3 separate regions of the Homo sapiens genome follow, and all the other regions are linked to region 2. The links are contacts of gene promoters, found by promoter capture Hi-C in blood cells and fetal thymus (Javierre and others, 2016). All regions are on one chromosome and are shown on one strand. Each heading gives the region's core, a stretch centred on a gene start or on the middle of the fragment in contact. The rest is flanking DNA. Distances are from core to core; before and after follow the strand shown. Region 1 overlaps WARS2-AS1 (WARS2 antisense RNA 1). Region 2 holds the start of ZNF697 (zinc finger protein 697). Region 3 has its middle 32 kb from the start of LINC01780.

Evidence for each region. Contacts are between HindIII fragments. The CHiCAGO score rates a contact against its expected background, and 5 or more counts as called.
Region 1: a fragment that was not itself captured here is called in contact with the fragment with the promoter of ZNF697 in region 2 in 4 of 17 cell types (naive CD4 T cells, naive CD8 T cells, non-activated CD4 T cells and 1 more); the score reaches 6.2 in naive CD4 T cells.
Region 3: a fragment that was not itself captured here is called in contact with the fragment with the promoter of ZNF697 in region 2 in 6 of 17 cell types (non-activated CD4 T cells, total CD8 T cells, activated CD4 T cells and 3 more); the score reaches 7.1 in non-activated CD4 T cells.

The regions. Positions count from the first base shown.
Region 1 is chr1:119,274,771-119,279,317 of GRCh38, reverse strand. WARS2-AS1 (WARS2 antisense RNA 1) reads right to left here. Exons shown (of 7, transcript NR_125975.1): 7 at 3,345-4,130. Among named protein-coding and RNA genes, the nearest start is that of LINC01780, 51 kb to the left of the region's middle. The HindIII fragment of the contact is 4,403 bases long and covers 238-4,547 here.
Region 2 is chr1:119,646,498-119,651,497 of GRCh38, reverse strand. ZNF697 (zinc finger protein 697) reads left to right here and starts at 3,232. Exons shown (of 3, transcript NM_001080470.2): 1 at 3,232-3,807. LOC124904389 (a long non-coding RNA gene) reads right to left here and starts at 3,182. Exons shown (of 2, transcript XR_007066506.1): 1 at 3,111-3,182; 2 at 2,522-2,774. RefSeq lists enhancers at 3,155-3,224, 2,396-3,236 and silencers at 3,295-3,354, 3,652-3,815. The HindIII fragment of the contact is 7,030 bases long and covers 1-5,000 here.
Region 3 is chr1:119,293,844-119,298,457 of GRCh38, reverse strand. No RefSeq gene overlaps it. Among named protein-coding and RNA genes, the nearest start is that of LINC01780, 32 kb to the left of the region's middle. RefSeq lists enhancers at 3,305-3,884, 3,885-4,464, 4,465-4,614. The HindIII fragment of the contact is 180 bases long and covers 3,273-3,452 here.

The DNA.
Region 1 (4,547 bases), core at 1,190-3,689, 370 kb after region 2:
GACATTCTGACTCCTTTTAAAGAGTCCACAATATTGTGGACACATATGAACACTCTGAGGTTTAAAAAACAAACTAACACAAATGGAAGGATAATATTATTCCACCAGTAACCCTTTAGAAGTTCCTTGGGTGTTGGTGCATTTTGCTGTCGCTGTTTGAAGCTAACCTCCTAGGTCTCCAGCCCCTGTGAGGGACACAGTCTGAGTAAAACCCACAACATCTGCTCAAGAGAAGCTTCAAAGAAGCACAATGCTTGGAATCATATCTTCTCTAAGAAAATGTAGGGTCAAAAACTCAACCCAGACCTCCTGACTTCATTTTTTCTACCCATTTGACAAGGCCACAAAAGAAATCTTTAAGCACCTATCTAAGTAATATTTCCTCTACACAACAGTCTATATGGCATGAGGCTAATATTCAGACAAAAATCAAGGGAATACACATCATACTACTAATTTATTATTTATGGCATTCTTGCATTGTGCCAGGAATTGAGCCATGCTGATAAATATTATTAGAACATAATCCCTCATTTCATAGACCTTCCCTTCATGTCAAGAGACAAAGTCCACCACAGTAAGAGAAATGACCAAAGTGTGCAGAGGATTCTATGGTAGCAGGAGAAGGTACTCAACTCAGACATGAGTACTGGTACTAAGGTACTGAGGACAGAAGGCTTTCTTAGCAAAGATGGTGTGTTAAACTGAGTCTCAAAGAAGCAATTAGCCAGAGGTAGGAGATGGGACATTCTAGGAATTCTAGTATCAGTGGTGTAGCTGTTTGCAATGATCTGTCTCCCAAACCCTCAGATGGTCTCATTATCATTGTCTTCACTAGAAAATTAATGAACAATTGCTTTGTGCAGAAGCTGTAGAAACTGTACTAGGTATTATAGATTCAACAATGTTTTCTATCCTTCTGTGACACACAGCTTAGGAGTGATTAGACAGCATGGATGGATGGATAGATATAGAGACAGACAGATGATGGCAATACCCAACCTGTACTTTACTTTTGTGTGGCAGTACCAGTTCTAAGGAGCTTCACAGTGGGCTTCATTTACCCTCACTGTCCTGAGATGGAGGTAGGGAAGACATTGCTTAATCCATTTTGAAAAAGAATAGATTCCTAGGCTAACGAATAGTGCAGATGACCAGTGCACATGCCTGATTACTTGAAAGGAAGTCAAGGGAGGAAAAACATCAAGGGAGGAAAAACATGGGTAAAGGGGGTAGATGTTCTGAAGGGAAGCAGATGAACTGGCCAAGCTGAGATGGGAAGAGAAAGCCATTGCTCTGAGCACCTGGAGCAGGTGCAGGTTCTCAGTTTTGGCAGCAAACTCACCTCTGGCTGAAGCAGCACCTCCATGAAGACCTAGAGGCTAGGCTGAAGGTGCTGTGGACATACCATTAACAGGAAGGCTGAAAAACACATAAAGTAGGAGTGACCTAGGAGAGTCTTCCCTGAGTTGGCCCTTTACAATATGTTTGACCACTTGAGCACCAGCTCTGTGGGGGTCAGCATGGTCTGGGGCTGGGATTATCACTATGATGACTCTTCTTCCACCCCTTCTCTCCATCTCTAAATGCTGCATCCCCCTGGGCTTAAGTCTAGATTCTGTTTAAGTGCCTCTTCCTTAATTTCACAACTAGGTTTAGAGGCTCAACTGAACTACCATTTGTCACAAGGTATTGGAACTCAGAGTGTCTCTGTCTCTCCTACTAGTCTGTGGGCCTTCGAGGGTAAGGATCATGTTCCTATAGTGTCAGCACTTACTACAGAGACTAGCAAATAGTAAGTATGCAATGAAATTTGTTGAATAACTAAATAAATGAATGGGTTTATGTACATAAGAATATCACCAGATCCCCCAGACCATGACATCTGTGGTTTCTATATAAAGAATCCAGTTCCTAGGGCATACGGGATTTTTTTTTTTTTTTTAATCTAGAAGCGCTTCTACTCAGAAACAGTCTTATTTCCAAACACTATTTATGATGGTCTTAATTTTCTTCTTTTTTTTTTTTTTTTAGAAAGAGTGTCTTACTCTGTTACCTAGGCAGCTGGAGTGCAGTGATCACAGCTCACGGCAGCCTTGAACTCCAGGGCTCAAGCAATCCTACTGCCTCAGCTTCCCAAGTAGCTGCAACTACAGGCACATGCCACCATACTCAGCTAAGTTTTTTTTTTTTTAATTTTTTGTAGAAATGGGGTCTCATTTTGTTGCCCAGGCTGGTCTTGAATGCCTGGCCTCAAGCCATCCTCCTGCCTCTGCTTCCCAAACTGTAGGATTACAGGTATGAGCCACCGCATCTAGCCTGTGATTGTCTTTTTGTTGTGTCAACTTGGATAGACTACAGTCTCTGGTTACAGAATCAAATACAAATCTAGGTGTTATTGTGAATGGAATTTTTAAATGTAATTTAAGACTATAATTAGTAGACTTTAACAAAGGGAGCGTATCCTAGATAATCCAGGTGAGCCCAATTTAATCAGCTGAAAGGCCTTAATAGCAGAGCTGAGGCTTCCCTGAAGAGGAAGAAATTCCACCTGCAGATGGCAGCTTCCACCTGTGCCTGACAGTTCCAGTCTGCCCTCCTGAGTGCCTGCCCTACAGACTTCAGACTTGCCTAGCCATCCCCCACAATCACATAAGCCAATTCTTTGTAATAAATCTCTTAATATTTATGTCCTATTCATTCTACTTCTCTAATTGGATCCTGACTGATACACTATAAATTCAAAGTGTCTTAGAGAGGCTGAGCTTGCAGTTTCCCAGTGTACTTTCAGTAAATAACAGAATGTCAAACTTTCAGAGCTTTAAATCAGACATACTCTTATTCCTGCTGATACATTCTACCAAGCATCTTTTCCTAACATGGACCAGTTAAATGTCTTATTTTTCTTTTTTTTTCTCCAAGAAATAGCGTCACTTGCCAAAGATGTTTTAAGTTCATTAATTTAACCCTTCTCCCCAGCCATTTCTGCAGGTGTGGTAGAGAATAGACCTCCTTAGAAGTTATGGTTAGTGTCAGACTGGGCTGCCTTGCCACCTTGAAGTAGCGTAGATTTGAGAGTATAGATTGTCTTTCAGATTACAGAACTAGTCCCTGACTTACTCCAGAAGTTAAGTAGCAGAGCTTTTACCATGCTTAGTTCCAAATTCTAGAACAACCCCCAGCCTTCTCCAAAGTTAAAAACAGTCTAATTGACAGTGGTTGATTTTGGCTGGCTGGGTGATGATGAAAGAAAGGAGAGCACTTGCATAGTTTATGGTGAAGATAAAGCACATATCAGGCATTGTAATTATCTAGCCGCACACTATAAACTTTTCCATTTCATTCATTTCCGTATCTCTTGCTCTTTATTGTCAGTTGCAGAGGCACAACACTTTTCTCAGGATTCATGATCAACTCTGCCCTTTGGAATTGTTCCTACTGTCTAAAAATTAATTCCACATGCATGTACAAACTTACATTTTATTTTCTCACTGCCTTCTGATTTTAAAAATGGTTCTACTTTCATTTTGTCATAATTATGCTCCTTTTTTAAGTAACACTTTTAATATTATTGCTACTTTTGCACTTCTCAGATATGTGGAGTCAAAAATGTTTCTAGAACATTTCAAAATCATGCACAAATGCAGCAAATTACCAAGTATTAAGGAGTAAGTGGTTGGCAGAGACCTAAATGGCAGGGCATTGGACAATAGCGCCATCTGTTGGTTGTGGATAGAGCTGGCTTCTCTCTATTCGGTCTTTATTCTTAGGTATAAAGGGTAATTTCCTGTGATAGTTCCTAGGAGGAGGAGCTTCTGTCATGATTTCACACACCCTTGACGTACTTTCTTTCTGTGAATGTTAGAAGCCTTTAATAGTAAGGGTCACTTTGGTCCCAAGTGGTCAGGCTGGGCCTTTGGAAGGCCAGGTGAGCCCACACAGGGAGTTCTGCGTGAGCCCCTCATTGCTCCTATACCAGTGCCACAGCTGTTTTCCAGTGAGAGCCATTACCTAGATTACAGGTTCTATACTCTGGCTGCACCTCAGAACCTCTGGGTTGTGGCATAGGCTTTGTGATTTTTTCAAAGTTTGCCAGTTGATTCCAATGTATAGCTAGGGCTGAAAAACACCTAAAGGAAGAGAAAGACATGGAAGAATTAACATTCTACACATTTGTTAAGATCTCCATTTTCCTCATGCCAGCATCCACTCTTTTCAGCCAAAGCACTGTTTACCAAATGTATCCCAAGGAGATATTAGAAACAAACAGGTTTCATGATTTTTCCAAGATCAGCCGATACTTCTGTGGCAGGTCCAGGTCTGGAACCTGGCACCCAGAGACCTAAGCCACAAGAGCTGTGAGCTGAAAGCCATCAAGTGTCCCAGTTTATAATTGTGTCCTCATCTGTAAATGGATGGCTTTAGACCTGAGTTTCCTTTTCCTGGAAAGATAAAGCCACCAGAGGTGAACTTCATTCTTCTTTTAGAGAAAGGAGGAAACAGGACGACTTTTGCAGCCTAATGTGACAAGGCAGCTTTCTACCATC
Region 2 (5,000 bases), core at 1,983-4,482:
TTTTTTTTAGTTTAAAGATGAAATGAAAATCCACAGGCTTGAAAGTTTGGACTTTCCTGAAGTTGTGGTGTGCCTTTCCAACCTATTGTCAACTTGGAAAAGACTTAATCTTCAACAGTGGAGGAAGCCTCCATTCTCTCCTTTCATTCACTTGTCTGTCACCTTCCCCTGAGGGCCTCAAGGGCAGGAGAGAGCATATGACAAGGAGGAAAGAAATGCCATTTCCTTCTGGTCTCAGACTCTGCGTATCTTAGCTGGGAATATGCAGTTTGGTCATTTCAATCTCAACATTTTCAACACTAAGTTGCAGGAATTAGTTAATTCAACAAGTATTTGTTGAATAAGAATCCCTTATCCTCTTTCGTTCCTCTTTGTTACCCTTTGTTTCTCTCCAAGACTTTTCTCATCAGCATTTAAACATCCTCAAGGCTCTCTCATCTTAAAAACCGAACAAATAAAACCCCTACAAACAGAAGAATGTCCTTTGATCCGACTTCCTTCTCAGCTACCACCCTGTTCAGAACCAAATTTCACATACTACATGTCTTCTTTACCGTCTGTATTTCCTCCCTCCCAAGCCTTCCTCTGGCCACTCCTGTCCACTCCTGCCACTCACTGGAACAGAAGGCTTATGGAAAGAGCCCCACTTTTACAGAACACGAACCCCAGTATAAGGCAGCATTATAGCCCTTAAACACTGTGAAGTAATTTTGTGACATCTGTCTTTTCAACTGGAGTGTGGGCTTCTTGGGGGTAAGACATAGCTGGTAGTTACTCAGTAAAATATCTTACTGTTGAATGTTACATGTCTACTCCAGACATGGAGACTAGCATGAATAAATGTTAAACAAAACTTTGTTGAAGTAACAAAATAACTGAGATTGGAAACAAAAGGATGGGACAGGTTTGGAATGGCGTGAAATAATGAGTGAAAGTTCAATTATTCTGAGCTCAAGTTAGAAGTGTAGGAGAAGGAGGAGAGTGTGTTGTATTAAAAGCAAGGCAAAAAATAGTTTCAATGGGCAATGTTATATGTTAAATGCTACAAGCAAGTATATCATGTTTTTCAGACTGAACACTATTAGAGGCTACTTGATTTGCAAAACAATAATCAATTCTTTGGGGTGGAGATGGGGAGATTAGTTTCACTGGAATGTTACCAGGTTGAGAATATGAAGGAGCAGTAATTTGTAGGGTCCAGAAAATGCAAGGATCACAGCACAATTAATTTAGGTGGACAGTCAACAGAGTGGGCATACAGCAGGACCTTTAGGGTGGGCATACAACAGGAACTTTTGGGAGGTGAACAGTCCTATCTGCATGCTTCTCATCAATTCTACATTTTAATCCAGGCCATCTTATCCGTGAGGTTAAGGATCTCTAGAGAAAGAGAACTCTAGCATAAACTTTACTTAAATGTAAGCTAAACCCTTCACCCAAATGTTTTAATCATATGGATTTAAAATGTGAAATGACAAGTGGAAGTGACACGTAATTATGACCTTATTTTTTGAAACAGAGTCTCAATCTGTCACCCAGGCTGGAGTGCAATCACGGTTCACTGCAGCCTCAAACTCCCAGTCTCAAACGACCCTTCCACTTAAACGACCGAGTAGCTGGGACTACAGGTACGCGCCACCACACCCGCTATTTATTTTATTTTACTTTTCGTAGAAACAGGGTCTCACTGTGTTGCCCAGGCTGGTCTTGAACTCCTGGGCTCAAGTGACCCTCCCACTTCGGCCTCCCAAAGTGCTGTGATTACAGGCATGAGCCACCAAGCCCAGAGACTTTTCTTTCTTTCTTTCTTTTTTTTTTTTGAGACGGAGTCTCACTTTGTTGCCCAGGCTGGAGTGCACTGACATGATCTCAGCTCACTGCAAGGTCTGCCTCCCAGGTTCATTCCAGTCTCCTGCCTCAGCCTCCCGAGTAGCTGGGACTACAGGTGCCCGCCACCACGCCCGGCTAATTTTTGGTGTTTTTTTTTTTAGTAGAGACGGGGTTTCACCGTATTAGCCAGGATGGTCTCCATCTCCTGACCTCGTAGTACGCCCGCCTCGGCCTCCCAAAGTGCTGGGATTACAGGCGTGAGCCACCGCGCCCGGCCTCCCAGAGACTTTTCTATCTGATTACTTTTCAAACACATTCTAGAGCATCCTAGAACTTGTCCTTTCCTAGTTCAGTTTATTACTTTCTGCTCATGCTCCAGGAGAGAATATAGCTTTTAGTCATTTAGTCTCTATGTGGTCCTTCCTTGATTTTCTAAGGGTCCTGAGTCTGTGGTCCCAGAAATAGACAAAAACATGTGCAGGGCATCATAGACTCTTGCTAGGCTGGAAGTAGAGTTCCTCTCTTGTAGCCAATGTCCTCTTCTCCTCACCCTTCCACTCCCGAAATACACACACTCAATATACAGTGGCCAGCACATCTGTTTTATGGGACCAAGAAGCTGAATCCTAAAGGTTAATGAAGGAAAGATACGCAGAAAGTCCAGCACTTTCCTAATTCAGCAGCACACAGGTTTTCACGTCTAATATTTAATTTACGTAATTTATTTTCAATCTCAATTTAATTGCTTTTCTTGAAAAGATGTTTGGGACAAGGTCAACAATGAGGGAGGAATGTCACCGGGTCGGGATCTGGAAACAATCAGCTCTGTATGGTTTTAAAGATGAAGCGCCAAGATCTTAAGGAACCTGAATTCCTGGTGAGCAATCAAGTTCTTTAATCGGCCCCCAGCAGGATGTCAACGGCGTAAAAGACAAAAAGAAAATCTATTTTAAAAGATAGATTTTGTGTTTTTAGATTAATTTTTAAAAAGCGAACCCACCACAAACTTCCCAGTTTTTAAAGAAAAGGCCTCTCCCACCGCAGAGCCCTCCCGAACCATGGGACAGCTCAGCGGCAGCGTCCCACCGGCTGCCCGCAACCGGTGCCGCGAGCTCGGAGTGCAGCGCTGGGATCTCGCGTGCTCCGGGACAGCGGGCTCCTTGAGCGCCGCGGGGCGGGGCGTGGGGCAAGACCCGCCGGCCGCTCCCTTCCCCACAGCGCTTAGAGAAGCAGCGAGCGCCTTTCCTCCTGTCCCGGAGTCCTAGCCTGGCCCGAGCTACCTCCAGGGCGCCCGCTGCTGCGGTGGCAGGAAGTCCCCGGGAACTACAAATCGAGGCATGCTGGGAACATTCTCCCGCTCCTCCCAGGAAATGTCCTTTGTCCAGCCCTACAGGAAGCCCCAGTGAGGAGTCAGCCGGGCAGCCAGCCAGCGAGCCAGCCAGCCAGCCAGCCAGCCAGCCAGCCAACCAGCCAGCCAGCGGGCCACCCAGCGGCCGCTGCAGCCGCCGCCGCCGCACAAGGGCAGACGCGCTGCGGTGCGGGGCTCGGGCCGGGGCGCTCGGTGCCCTAGCTCCTCGCCGCGCCAGCCGCCTCGCAGGTAGGAGCGTGGCTGTGGCTGGGCTCAACCGCCTCCCGGGGATGGGGCTGATCGGGACCAGACCCGACCGCTGCGGGGATGGGGTGTGTGTTCGAGTGCGGTGGCGGAACGGCTGGGCGAAGTTGTGCCTCGTAAAGTGGACCGTTGTCCGCTCCCCTGGGGCGCAGGGCCCCGGGCTTATGGGGTGCTCTCGCGCCCCCAAAGCCAGGACTGAGCTCCCTCAGGGGTATGTGGCGAGGGGCGGGGAGGAGGAGGCTGAGACTTGAGGGAGGAGACAGCGATGCAAGAGGGAATAGGACCGTCCCGCCGACCACCGAAGGGGGCATCAGAGACCCTCGGAGAAACCAAGCCCAGGGAGGAGCTTGGAAGGCAAGGAGAAGGTGAAGGGCTTTGTGTGCAGCTGTGGACCTTGACGGACTGCGCTCCCCTTGCCTTGTCTGTTCGTGCCTCCAGCCCCACTGGGGCTAAGGGAGGGTGGGGGGCTCCGAGAAGGGCAGGAGAGAGGCGGCAGGTCATCTTGGGTCCTAGTGAATGAAATGTGTGCCTCCCTTTTCCTCTCTTCTCCATTCTAGCCCACTCAAATGAGCGGCTTTGGGGCTGCCATCAGACCGGGCAAATGACACAATAAGGACGGGTGGGTGGAGAGATGGGCAGCAGCTCGCAGCCCAAGAGGGGTGGCCGTCTAGCCCCGGGAGGCATTCCAACCACACGTGTCCATGTAGGTAGGTGGTGGGGTGGTGGGCAAAGCTGGAACCTGCACCTCGCGGGGATGCCGAGGCTCAGGATTGTGCATGGAGGCACGGGTGAGGCGCGTGTTGGGAGGAGTGGGTGAGTAAAAGGTTGAGGGGGAGCAGCGACACAGAGGCGCTGAGTGTACCTTATGGCCAATGTACATTATGGCCATGCATCGGGAACTGACTACCACTTCCTCTGGGACTTTCCACGATTTTCCTTTTTCCTAACCGCCTCCCCCAACCGCCCCCGCCCTGCCTCCCCCACAGGAGTGAATCACCCACCCCTTACTACATGAACCCTGGGCTGAATTGAAGTTGGTGATGTATCCCTGTCCTTGTAGTGGGCATGTTTGTCCTTAACCTGTAGGATGACACCAATACTCCGCATCCCCTACTGCGTTACCCTCCTCCCTCAAGACTGAGCGTCTGGTAAATGCGGTTGGATAATGGCTAGCGAGTTAAATGTCTTTGAGTAGCTGTGGTGGATGAGTGGGCAACTTTGAATACAGTCCAAGTGTGACTGTTGTAACTGAACTCAGCATGCCTAAGGGGCCACACTCACTATCTCTCCTTTCTCCCCTCACCTGATTTTTTGTTGATGCCCCCAACTGTTTACCTTCTTCTCTCAACAAGCCAACATGTGGATATTATTTAATGTGGAATACGTTTGAGGAACCAAATGAACCTTTAAGAATGCCACTTATATGGCCAGGCAGGAGTATGCAAGGCTCATGGTCGAAAGAATGATGCTGTAGGACATGGAGAGAGCCCTGAGCCTGATATAAATGGCTTTCGAGGTGAAACAAAACATTTCTTCCTTAGCTTCTTTGGGAGAGATG
Region 3 (4,614 bases), core at 2,113-4,612, 350 kb after region 2:
GCACTCTAGCCTGGGCAGCAGAGTGAGACTCTGTCTCAAAAAAAAAAAAAAAAAAAAAAGAAAAGAAAAAGAAAAAAAAGAAATTGGTCTGTTATCTGGTGATATACACTTGGAATCTGGCTACTCTAGCTGGTTTCTTTGGGCCAGCTTTACAGTTTCTATAGAGCATGGTAAGTGTGATTAAAAATGTTTCCTAATCACTCGCTTTTAGGTTAGAAACGCCTAGGGTTCCATTTAACTTCAATCATTAGGAAAGAAGGAGAGCGTGATGAAGTCAGTTATCGGTGGAACTTTAGGCAGCACATTAAATATGGGGTTGACTGCCACTATCACCACCCTAACTGGTGCCACAGGCTGGCACCAGAGGAACGGGCATTAAGATCACATATATTATCCTGGGAACAGAGTGTCTCGAGGACCAAGACTTCTGTCTTTTTTGGTCTTCAGCTGTGATACCTACCCAGGCTTATGCTTTCCATGCTCTCACTTACCCTCAAGGTACAGAAATGAGATGACTATACTTCTCAACTCATGGCACCCTCCTCAGGCCATGGCAAATTAGAAAATTTAGATTCAAAGTTCCTTTCTTCCTTGTACATTTTTGAAGATATTAACTACCCTTTTGTTCTTCTTGTTTTCAGTGTTAAGTCTGATATGAATCAGATTCTTATTCTTTTGTAGTCAGTCTTCCTTTCCTCTCTAGAAGCTGTTTTTGATACTCTTACTTTTCATTATAATGTGTCCTAAAGAGTTTTGTTGTTGTCGTTATTAATCCTGTTTGGCATTCGGAGCTGAGAATTACAGAATTTACCAATTTATGAAGGCCCACTAACTAGTACATTATGCAGATGGACATAAACATCATTTTTATTCAAAATTATAAGTGTTGAACTTTTCTGGATGCATAGAGACACACATATGGTAAGCGTTTAAAATAGGCTTTACGGACTACCACAGGTACTCAATAAACATTTGTGGGTCAGTGAATGAATAAATGAATGAGTAGCACATTGCCTAGCACATAGTAAATTCAAGGTAGCTATTATTATTAACAGAAGTGCCACATAAATTTAGAAAACTGCAAAAGACTTGATCTCTGCTCTGTAGTGATCTTAGTCTAGTTGAAATAAGTAGACAAACTTGCAGTACTTATCACATCATAATGTTCATTTGAAATACTACAGCATCACTGGAGAGGGAGTTAACTAACTCTCTGAGAAGCTTTCCCAGAGAAAATAGAGCTGAGTTTTGAGGATAGCGTAGGACATTACAGGATAGAATAAAATAGGACAGGACAGGGTAGGATAAGATAGGACAAGATAGGTCAAGATAGGCTAGGCTAGGCTAGGCTGGGCTGGGCTGGGCTGGGCTGGGCTGGGCTGGGCTAGGCTAGGACAGGACAAGACAGGATAGGATAAGAAAGGATGGGATGGGATGGGATGGGATGGGATGGGATAGGATAGCACAAGACAGAACAAGAAAGGATAGGACAGGACAGGATAGGATCGGATCGGACAAGACAGGACAAGAAAGGATAGGCCAAGACAGGACAAGACAGAACAGTATAGGACAGGACAGAATAGGATAGGATAGCATAGCAGAGAAGTGAAAAAAGGGCATTTTAGCCAGAGAAAGGCTCATGCAAAGGCCCGCATGGGACATGCCATCTTCAGTTTGTTGTGGCTAGAATGAAGACTAGAGGGAGAGAGAGGAAGAGGAGTGAGAAATTATCTCAGATAAGTGAGAGAGCTGCCTTCTGAATCCTTACTTGATCCTCAGTTACTCTTCACACAGTGCCCTAAGTAAGTTTTACAGATGAGGAGACTGGGTTGAGAATGGTTAGGGGAGTCACCAAGGCCACCTGGTTTTGAGAGGCAGAGCCAGGACATGAGCCTAGATCTGCACCATCTGCTAAGAACTTCAAGAACAAGGACTGCCTGCAGCAAATTCCCTGCACTTGGTTTTATCCATCTCCAAAAAATTATCAGGGAAAAAAACTCAACAAAGGAAAGGGCTCTGTAATTGTTTTTAGGGACAGTGACAAAGCAAGGGCATCTGCCTTGCTCTGCACAAATAGGAGCAAGACTTAAGAGGACCAAAGGGCCAGAAACAGCTGAAGGAAGGAAGGTAAATGGCTCAGCTGTGAGACTCACAGAGACAAAAAAGGGAGGCTTGGGGTAAGGGTCAAGAGGCCTATTCCTATTTGGGGCTAATGAAGACTATTAGACGCCCTAAGCACTGAAAAGAGGATACTCTCATCAAGTTATAGAAAATTAAAAAATAGGGGCCAGGCTTGGTGGCTCATGCCTGTAATCCCAGCATTTTGGGAGGCTGAGGCGAGAGGATCACAAGGTCAGGAGATAGAGACCATCCTGGCTAATATGGTGAAACCACATCTCTACTAAAAAAATACAAAAAAATTAGCTAGGTGTGGTGGCGGGCACCTGTAGTCCCAGCTACTCGGGAGGCTGAGGCGGGAGAATGGTGTGAACCCGGGAGGCAGAGTTTGCAGTGAGCCGAGATCGTGCCACTGCACTCCAGCCTGGGTGACAGAGCCAGACTCCGTCTCAAAAAAAAAGAAAAAAATTAAAAAATATACATGAAAACATAAAGTAATGATAAGGAAGTCCAACAGAATTCTCTCTCTATTTTTCTTTTTGGATGACAGCTCTAATTTATTAATTTTTTTTGAGGGTGCTAAGGTTGTATTTGGGGAACCTGATGCCCACTGAGTGGTGTTAAGAACTACTCCCCCATTTTGCAGACAAGGTGACTTCAGTCACAGGAGAGATGGGTCCAGGGCTTTGCCTGAGCCTTCAATCTGCCCTGGGAAATGAACAGCCTTAACTCAGATGAAAGTCTCGGTTTTTCCATTAAAAGCACTTTCCCATAGCAAATTCTGAATGCAGCCTGAAATCAAGATGTGCTATGAAATTTATTCCTCTGGGGCATACGTGCAGCTTAAACCGCTTGTTTTACAAACAGGAGAAAATTTATGGTTAAAAATTTACTCTGGGGAGAGGTTAATTAGAGTTTCTACTCTGGTTCTTGAAATACCACTAGCAAATCTCATGCTATTACCCAGAGCTCATCTTACTTGGCCAGAGGATAACCCAGGGCTTGAAATCAGCTGAGGTTCAGTTTTAGAGAAAGCAGGAGCTCTCTCCAAAACTTGCCCTCTTCATACCTGCTTGAAGCTCCAAAATTTGACATGAGGAAGGAATATGATTTCAGAATGCAGAATATGGACTGTTCTGGCAGAAAAGTAAGCTTGAAGAGAGGCCTCATAATACAAAGCAGTAAAGATCAAGAAAAGACACTCCAACTTCTTTACCTGTATAATTTCCTAGTGGGTCTGAAGGGGTGCTGAGACCTCTGATATTTTCAGCAAAGTGAGCCTTCTTATAGCCTGGTTCTTAAAGCAGCATGGTCGTCCTGACCTCTAGGAAGCTTAATATCAGGTCTAATGAAATACAACACGTGGCTGACATCAGAGCCTGTCTCAGACCACACATCAAAGGGAAGGAAGTAGATGCTTTGATCCTCTCAGTCATTGCTCTCTACAGAAAGCTTTAACAAAAGAAGGAGGGAACTGGATGGGGGTGGGGGTGGGAATCAGGGACTGGTTTTTCCTTCTGCTGGTAATGTTATTCTTCAAGTTTTGGAGAACAGGCAGGAGGGTGGGTGTAGGGAGTGATTTTCCTGTTGTAATTTCCATGGGCTGAGGTGTCTATCTTCCCCCAAATCCCTGCCCTGCCTGTACAATGATTCCTGAATTCTAGGGTTTAGTTTGCTTAGCTTGAGTTTTTACTTTTATTAGAATATAAACCCCTCCTAGGACAGGCAATAACAAATGCCATATTATCCCACTCTTCAGTAAAAGTATCATGTTAGAATGCATTTCAGATTTTGTCATTATACCAGCTAAAAGTATCTTGGCTCCTGGTGAGCACAGGGTGCAGTCTGCATGTGTTCCTGGGAGGGCTCGCCTTCCCACTAGGACCTCGACCCTGCCTAGCCTCTGGTCCCCATGTCTGCCCCTCCCTGCATGAACATTAATCTCCAGCAATTGCCCTGAGCTGTCCTGTGGCTTTTCATCCCTATTCATGCAGTTGCTTGCTCCTGCCTTAAGATATGCTGTCCTCTGGGGTGGAACACCAGCCAAAGGTCAAATGTTATCCTGGTTCCTTACAAAGATTAGGCCATGAAAACATTTATCATATAAATAAAAAAAGATAAATTGCACCATGGCGTATCTGTTTTTTGTTTGTTTGTTTTTCTATTCTGCAGGTTTTCAATGAAAGGAAGAGTGTGAGGCATTAAGAAGCCTGAGGAAGAGAGGAGAGAGGGGCTAGGGGCTCCCGCCTGGGAACAGGGAACTGCAAGAGGGCCTGTTCAGTGCTTTGGCCTAACTCGAAGTGGTGCCGCTAAGGTAGGGGTAGGAATCTGACTCAGAGCTGATGAGCACAGGGACAAGCCTGGCACACTTGGTTGGGGTGGGGAGGAGGGACAGAGGAAGCAAGAGCCAGAGGAGGGGGTTAGGCAGAGGAGGCAGAGCAAAGCTTAGGAAACCCTGGCTAGCAAGGCAGAAAGGAACAGGAAGGTTGCTGCCCC